Linked DNA regions of Homo sapiens: regions 1 and 2 are each linked to region 3. The links are contacts of gene promoters, found by promoter capture Hi-C in blood cells and fetal thymus (Javierre and others, 2016). All regions are on one chromosome and are shown on one strand. Each heading gives the region's core, a stretch centred on a gene start or on the middle of the fragment in contact. The rest is flanking DNA. Distances are from core to core; before and after follow the strand shown. Region 1 holds the start of H3C8 (H3 clustered histone 8). Region 2 holds the start of H4C6 (H4 clustered histone 6). Region 3 has its middle 7.7 kb from the start of TRY-GTA3-1.

Region 1 (2,700 bases), core at 19-2,518, 310 kb after region 3:
TGAAATCTGTGTTCAGGAGATAGCACAGTCTACTTTGCCGAATATAGATTATAAGAGTTTAGCTCTTGCGTTTTACTAGAATCAATCACTTTCCTTCTTCTAAACAAGTATTTAAATACTTCACTGCGTCTGGATGTGGAATGCAGGGCAGCAAAGCTCGCGCCAAGGCTAAAACGCACTCTTCCAGGGCTGGTCTCCAGTTTTCTGTGGGCCGAGTGCACCGCCTCCTCCGCAAGGGCAACTACGCCAAGCGGGTCCGGGCCGGTGCGCCGGTGTACCTGGAGGCGGTGCTGGAGTACCTGACCGCCAAGATCCTGGAGTTGGCGGGCAACGCGGCCCGAGACAAGAAGACCCGCGTCACCCCCCGACGCCTGCAGCTCGCCATCCACGACGAGAAGCTCAACAAGCTGTTGGGCAAAGTTACTATCGCGCAGGGCGGTGTCCTGCCCAATATTCAGGCCGTGCTGTTGCCCTGTCTATACAAGTGACTGACTAGGCAAACAGGACTAATGAGAAAATGTTTAATATCTCAAGTAAGTGCTTTAATGTAGTCGGGAAGAAGCAAGTTCAGTAACGTTTACAAAACCTTGTAAAGTTTAGATGGACAGGGCCACTGCAGTGTTCAAGTTATCCTGCAGAAGAGGCTAGTGGGGGTGGTATCCTGGAATATCATCAATAGGACCCAACGAAAAGTAAATGATAAGAGTCGTTGGAAAACCTAAAATTAGCCTGTGCCTTAAAAATTCTCAACCGAAGCAAAACACCATTTGGGACAAAATAGAATTCAGTTAACATTTGTTGCTCACTGTTGTATGTCGGTGACTTCTTGGCTCGTGATTTCCCAGGTACATCACCCAGGAATCCTGCCTTATAATGGTCAAAGGTTTCCAGCTAGCAGCAGTCCAGGTGACTCAAGAAAACGGCACAAGATAAACTTCTCAAAACGTGGTCCTCCGAATCTGGCCCCACAACACATCTACTGAATGAGAATTAGCGTCTTCCAAGTCTTAAAGTAGTCGTTTACGGACTACAGCTTGAGAAGCGCAGAATTAGAACTTTAAGAAGTTAACGTTCTTGGATCGCAGACTAACCGAGAAGAGAGGATTCAAAAATGAAGTGATTCATCCAATCAGATTTTCCAGTAATTCACCAATCACATCGTTGGACTCTTCAGCCAATGGTTTTGTTGCGCGGGTCTTTTGAAAATCAACAAGGCCAATTAGAATGTTTCTGAGTATATATAAGGGCAGTTTCCACTCTGCCAAGTGGCTGAGTTTTTCTTTCAGGTAGTCTGAGATGGCCCGCACCAAGCAGACTGCACGCAAGTCCACCGGTGGCAAAGCGCCGCGCAAGCAGCTGGCCACTAAGGCGGCTCGGAAAAGCGCGCCGGCCACCGGCGGCGTGAAGAAACCTCATCGCTACCGTCCCGGCACCGTGGCTCTGCGCGAGATTCGCCGCTATCAGAAGTCGACTGAGCTGCTGATCCGCAAGTTGCCTTTCCAACGCCTGGTGCGAGAAATCGCTCAGGACTTCAAGACAGATCTGCGCTTTCAGAGTTCCGCGGTGATGGCCCTGCAGGAGGCCTGCGAGGCCTACTTGGTGGGGCTCTTTGAGGATACCAACCTGTGTGCCATCCATGCTAAGCGAGTGACTATCATGCCCAAGGACATTCAGCTCGCTCGCCGCATTCGTGGGGAGAGAGCGTAGAGGTTTCCGGGCAGTAATTCTATCCAACTTAAAAAGGCTCTTTTAAGAGCCGCCTACTTTCACCCGAAAATAGCTGTGATTAACTAATCAAATCTTTGAAACTAAACATTGGTTTTAGTACTTAAGTCCTCATTTGATTGGCTAAAGTTAATGGTAAGCTTGCTATATTTGTTCCCGTGCTTTTTCCCGAAAGTGCCAGATTGTCAGCGTCCTTTTCTAAACTGGCTTTTAGGGGTTTGGAGCTTCGATTTGGTAGTGGAAGGGGCCACCTGGGGGCGTTTATATACATTGTCTCAAGCGTTAGTCGCGTTGTCTACTTACACCCATTATAGATGGGATTTTTTTTCGTTGTGTATTTCTGGTTAATCCCTTTTAAAACTTTACAGGTATGAGCATTGGCAGTTGAGAGTAGGTAGGGATATCCTTGGTTGCTGCTTTTTCGTGTCTGAAGCAGCTATTTCCACAATTCCCCCTTTTTTTAAACAGTTCTTGGTTTTTCTGTGAAATGATCCATTTTTTAATTCAATATTAGAAATTGGCGGCAGAAACGAAAGCCAGATTGGCCTCTACATTACTGGCAGCATGGGCATTACGTGGGAACTTGTTAGAAGCTCCCAGGGCATTACATGGGAGCTTGTTTCAATCCCCATCTAGGGCTGGAGTCAATCTGCATATACCTCAGATGATTCTCATGAACACTGATTTAGGAAGCCTAGGTTGTTGGTTTTGGTCTCATCAGTAAAGGCATCCTGCCTGTGAACTCTTACAAGGAGTGAGCTTTTGCAAAATGCATGTTTATTTATGTTACAGAATGAAATATTCTATGAAATGTTCTCTAAAGCAAGTGCACAGAACAATCCCCTAAAATAGTTTGATTTCTTTACAGATCAGTTTTCTCAATGTAACATTACAGTCACATGGGAAGGCTTTAGAAAAATCTTTACCTGGGGTTCAATGAGACTAATAGCAATCTAGAGTGGGCCCAGGGAATGG
Region 2 (2,700 bases), core at 136-2,635, 340 kb after region 3:
TTGAGGCATGGTCTCTGTCGCCCAGGCAGGAGTGGAGTGGCACCATCTCAGCTCACTGAAATCTCCGCCTCCCGTGCTCAAGCGATTCTCCTGCCTCAGCCCTTGCAGATTAGCTGCGACAGCAGGCGTCCGCCACAACGCCGGGCTAACTTTCCTATTTAACTTTTTTAGTTGAGACGGAGTTTCACCATTTTGGTTGCCCAGGCTAGTCTCGAACTCCTGAGCTCTAGTAATCCGCCCGCCGTGGTCTCCCAAGGTGCTGTGATTCAGGCCTGAGGCACCGCGCCCGGACACAAGTAGTGGATTAAGTTTACCAGTAATTGATCTGTCCACAGCCGCCCTAAGATTACTCACGTTCTATGCCTAATAAATAACACTAAGGCCGGGCACGGTGGCTCACGCCTGCAATCCCTGCACTTTGGGAGGCCAAGAAGGGCGGATCACCTGAGGTCGGGAGTTCGAGACCAGCCAGACCAACACAGAAAAGCCCCTTCTGTACTAAAAATAAAAAATTAGCCAAGCGTGGTGGCGCATGCCTGTAACCCCAGTTACTCGGGAGGTTGAGTCAGGAGAACCGCTTAAACCCGGGAGGGGGTGGTTGCGGTGAGCCGAGATTGCGTCATTGCACTACAGCCTGGACAAGAGCAACTCCATCTCAAAAACTAAACATGTAATGCTAGTGTAGTTAAGTCCCAGCCACCTAACATAGGAGTAAATTTCAGAAACGTGGGAATAAAACACATCACATACGTCATAAAAGGCTGCTGGTATTCCCAAACCATTTCCACCATCTTTTCCTGTGAATGTTTGCGATCGAAATACCTGAACAAGTTTCTAATGTTTCGCCTTCCCTTTCTCCTTAGCACATCCGCCATCTTAGGAAGATCGCTAAAAACGGCTCGGTTTAACTCAGTTAGAATCCCAAATTTACAAAACGAAACCCAAGTCGTCATCAGTTACAGCCCTTCGTGTGACGAAGGAGGTGGCCCTGAAAAGGGCCTTTTATGGGTGAGCTGTTAAATAAAAAGCCGGGGTGAGGCTCAGCCACCAAAGCCGTACAGAGTGCGTCCCTGGCGCTTGAGCGCGTAGACAACATCCATTGCAGTGACTGTCTTACGCTTGGCGTGCTCCGTGTAGGTTACGGCGTCCCGTATCACATTCTCCAGGAACACCTTAAGAACACCGCGGGTCTCCTCATAAATGAGGCCCGAAATGCGTTTCACGCCGCCGCGTCGGGCCAAGCGACGGATGGCGGGCTTCGTGATGCCCTGTATGTTGTCACGCAGCACTTTGCGATGGCGCTTGGCGCCTCCCTTTCCTAAACCTTTACCACCTTTGCCTCTACCAGACATGATCGAAGACAAACAACAACTCTTAACTTTTGCAACTTTGCTACACACTGAAGCCCCTTATATATCAATTATGCGGACCTTTTTGGAGACTGAATTGGAGGGGCGGGAACGAAACCTCTGTCTCCGCCTTTTCCGTAACTTACTGGGCGTCCCCTACACTATTGCCTTGGGAAGGAAAGGGGGCGGTGAGGGTAGGGGAAATGCAAGTTGATTTGACTCCTTCCTGTTTCCTTGTTTGGGTCTTGAGTGTAGGTTTCTGTGTCTTCTAGTCCAGTGCCTGTGGGCTCTCGAACTGATAATGTCTGTCTCCTAAAATCCTTATTATTTGCAAAAAGGAGGCAGTAACGCTACACTTGTCTACCGAATGGATAGACAAGAGAATAAAATTATTATTTCTTTTGAAACAGTTTTGCTCTGCCCCAGACTGGAGTGCAGTGGCGTGATCTCGGCTCACTGCAACCTCCGCCTCTCGGGTTCGAGCGATTCTTCTGCCTCAGCCCCTGCAGTAGCTGCAACTACAGGCGCGCGTCACCACGCCCGGCTAATTTTTGTATTTTTAGTAGAGATGGGGTTTCGCCATGTTGACTAGGCTGGTCTCGAACTCCTGACCTCAGGTGATCCACCCGCCTCGGCCTCCCAAAGTTCTGGGATTACAGGCGCCTAGCTTTAATTTTTAAATGTGAAGATTCTTTGAAAATGTATTTTTACTAATTTTTTTTTTTTGATACGGGGTCTCACTCTGTTGCCCAGGCTGGAGTGCAGTGGCGCTATCTCGGCTCACTGCAACCTCCGCCTTCTGGGTTCAAGCGATTCTCATGCCTCAGCCTCACGAGTAGCTGTGATTTCAGGCACGCGTCGCCACACCTGGGTAATTTTTGTATTTTCTTAGTAAAGACGGGGTTTCGCCATGTTGGCCAGGGTGGTCTCGAACTCCTGACTTCAGGTGATCCACCCACCTTGGCCTCACAAAGTGCTGGGATTACTGGCGTGAGCCACCACGCCCGGCCATTTTTATTAATTCTTAAAATGTAGCAATACTTCTTAAATTTGGCCAATCATGAGACTTAGCGTTTGGCAGAGACATATACATTCACATCGTTTTTGGCATTCCTAATAAAGAAAGACCTCTAGTAAGGGAAACCAATATTAATTGAAGTTTCATTCTTAGTTTTTCAATGTATAATGCAATATCTGAGGTGTAAAGATAAGGAATCCCAGGCTTGAAGACATTATCCTCTAATAAATGGCATTGTATTGTTGGCTCGATTCTGGAGTCTCACTACCTTGCTACCTACCACTGCTTTCATGCCACTAAAGCATACATGGTAAATCATGGTGAATAAAGGTT
Region 3 (2,700 bases), core at 43-2,542:
TTTGTTCTGGAAAATGAGGTGTCCCTTCCAGATGTTTGAGAGTCAGTGAGCAATCTATCGGGTCCCTTTTTACCTTACCTTGACAAAATAATTGATTATTTTGATTGTAGAGGATCTACAAATCAGGGTTTATTAGTGAAATAGAGACCACCAACCAAATCATGATAGATTTTTATGACACAGAAATAGGAGTTTATGGTTATAAGCCAGTATGATTTGGCGTGGGGGAGAGGAATTACTTATTATTGCAGCATAAGCTAATGTATCCAGATGGATACATCCAGGAAATTCAGAAGTATGAATTCATTAAGAAGACCAGATTCCTTTCTAGGTAAATATCCAACAAAATTGTGTGAACTTGAGCACTAAGAGGTATGCTAAAAGTGTTCATAGAAAACAGGTTTTTAAATATACATATATATTTTAATATATTAATATCAACATATCCCAAGAAAAAGCTTAGTGAAGTATTGCCAGTGGTCTACGTACAGCCTAATATCACTTTATATTATGATAAGCTTAGGAAAATGTCTAAAGTTTCTTTGGTTCTTTGTGGTAGAATTCTAGAACATTTAAATGTATTGAGCTAAAAGTAGTAAAAATCTCAAAATTAGAATGAACACAGATCTAAGATTGGGATTTTAAAATACTATGGCAGTTTTTCAAGCCTGGAAAGTTCAGTCATTAGGATTACAGCAAAAATAATTATTAGACACAAGAGGCATTTCACCTGCTCTGTCTCTTGGCCCCATATGCAGCCATAGTGACTGTCCTTTTTCTCCTTTTCTCCCTTGCCACAGCACCCACAATTCAGATTGCTTTCCTTTTTCCCTCATAACTTCTACCAACCATTTGCTTCTTTGGGGACAGATCTTCCCTAAGACAAATAGAAAATTGTAGCATGAATCATAAAATCTTAGCCTCTTAAATCCTTGCTGCACCTGAAAATTACCATGCGAGATCATTTCTTAATGTTGAGTTTTATGCCTAATTATTATTAGTAAATAGACTGAGCATCACATTCAATGGAAAGTTACATGACTATCTTATATATGCATGCTGTATCTGGTCTAAAGTTTCTATTTTCATGGCTAAAATAGCTACAAGGAACCTGATCATTGTCTTATCTTCTACTTTTATTCCCAATGGCAGGTAGGGCTTCCTAATACTCCTAACTCCTTCTAATCCAGCAGTAGTTCTTCAACATCAGTGTTCCTTTTGTACAACACTGGTTTCAGTTCTAGGAACATCTCAGGCTCTCTAAGATATCTGAGCCTTTTTTAAACTGTTTATTCTCCCAGGAATGACCTGGAAAATGTATTGACCACTGACCAACTTTTATTTTATTATTATTATTACTATTATTATTACTTTGTGTGTGTACGTGAGATGGAGTTTCGCTCTTTTGCCCAGGCTGGAGTGAAGTGGTGTGATCTTGGCTCACTGCAACCTCCACCTCGCGGGTTCAAGTGATTCTCCTGCCTCAGCCTCCCTAGTAGCTGGGATTACAGGCATGTGCTACCACGCCCGACTAATTTTTGTATTTTTAGTAGAGACGGGGTTTCAGCATGTTGGCTAGGCTAGTCTTGAACTCCTGACCTCAAGTGATCCACCTGCCTCAGAAACTGCTAAGATTACAGGCATGAGCCACGGCACCTGGCCACTGACCAACTTTGAAGACCAAGGATCAAGGATCAACTCCACATTGAAGATGTTGGAGCCTCACCATATTACCTCTGGCATCCCACCAAGAAGCCCCCCCCATATCCCCCTGACCTTCACCATGTCAATGTCCACCAGGCTGATTTCTACCTGCCGGTACTTGCATCTTATCGCATGAGAGCTTTCCCCACCTGCTGATCACACTTTGCCCACATTCATGGCAGGCCAGATGTTCCACTGAATTGGAGGTTTAGAATAGCTCCCAAGCAATTTTTGGTAAATGGTGTATGACTATCCCAGCTCCCTTACCCTTGAAGTTTGATCATTTTTAGGCATATTTTCAACATTGTTTCCCAGAGTTCCTCCTCTGAGGATTAAGAGGGGTTAAGAAGGATTAAGCTTGAATAGCCCAGAGTGGTATTCCTTGGTTTCTTTTCTTTTCTTTTTCACTTTGTTTTTTCCACACCAGTGTTTTCTGGATTAAACCACTTGCCCCTAAATCCTTGAATAAACCACCCCACCCCACCCCACCCCAGAAAAAAAACAGTAGGTTTTTGAAAGGTCATCCAATATGCTGTGGAAGAATAGGTAAGTAGTCAGGGGCAGAAGCAGGAAGGCAAGATTGATTCAGGCGAAAATTACGATGTCTCCAAAAGGAGTTGTGGCAGTAAGAGTGGTGAGATGCTGTAAGATCATGGATATGTAGTGAAGATAGAAGCAACAGAATCACCCAATAAATTGATGCGGAATGCGACACAAAGAAGAATCAGGCTGACTCCCAGGTATCTGACCAGAGAACTGTGAAGGATGGAATGGAGTGAGGGTGACTGTGGGTGCGACAGATTTGGGAGGGAATGAGATAAGGAGTCCAGTTTTGATGATTATTAGCTTCTAAGTGGAGATGATGAGTAGGTAGGAATACTGCAGTAGGATCAGTCTGCAGTTTGCGGGAGAGTCTGGGCTGGAGATATAATAATGTGAATTATCTGCACAGAAACAGGTTTAAGTTCATGACTCTGGATGAGACTCTGAAAGAAT

Evidence for each region. The method cuts DNA at HindIII sites, captures the fragments that hold promoters and counts their contacts. A CHiCAGO score of 5 or more calls a contact.
Region 1: the fragment with the promoter of H3C8 here is called in contact with a fragment that was not itself captured in region 3 in 17 of 17 cell types (erythroblasts, naive CD8 T cells, naive B cells and 14 more); the score reaches 12.1 in erythroblasts.
Region 2: a contact is called between the fragment with the promoter of H4C6 here and a fragment that was not itself captured in region 3, in 9 of 17 cell types (total B cells, monocytes, M0 macrophages and 6 more). The highest score is 9.2, in total B cells.

The regions. Positions count from the first base shown.
Region 1 is chr6:26,269,981-26,272,680 of GRCh38, reverse strand. It overlaps H3C8 (H3 clustered histone 8), which reads left to right and starts at 1,268. Exons shown (of 1, transcript NM_003534.3): 1 at 1,268-1,763. The coding sequence starts at 1,297. The coding sequence ends at 1,707. It also overlaps the pseudogene H2AC10P. RefSeq lists enhancers at 160-499, 2,227-2,366. The HindIII fragment of the contact is 12,049 bases long and covers 1-1,867 here.
Region 2 is chr6:26,239,078-26,241,777 of GRCh38, reverse strand. H4C6 (H4 clustered histone 6) reads right to left here and starts at 1,385. Exons shown (of 1, transcript NM_003540.4): 1 at 985-1,385. The coding sequence starts at 1,352. The coding sequence ends at 1,041. RefSeq lists enhancers at 1,149-1,198, 1,659-1,758. The HindIII fragment of the contact is 5,393 bases long and covers 1-2,700 here.
Region 3 is chr6:26,583,432-26,586,131 of GRCh38, reverse strand. No RefSeq gene overlaps it. Among named protein-coding and RNA genes, the nearest start is that of TRY-GTA3-1, 7.7 kb to the right of the region's middle. The HindIII fragment of the contact is 1,543 bases long and covers 521-2,063 here.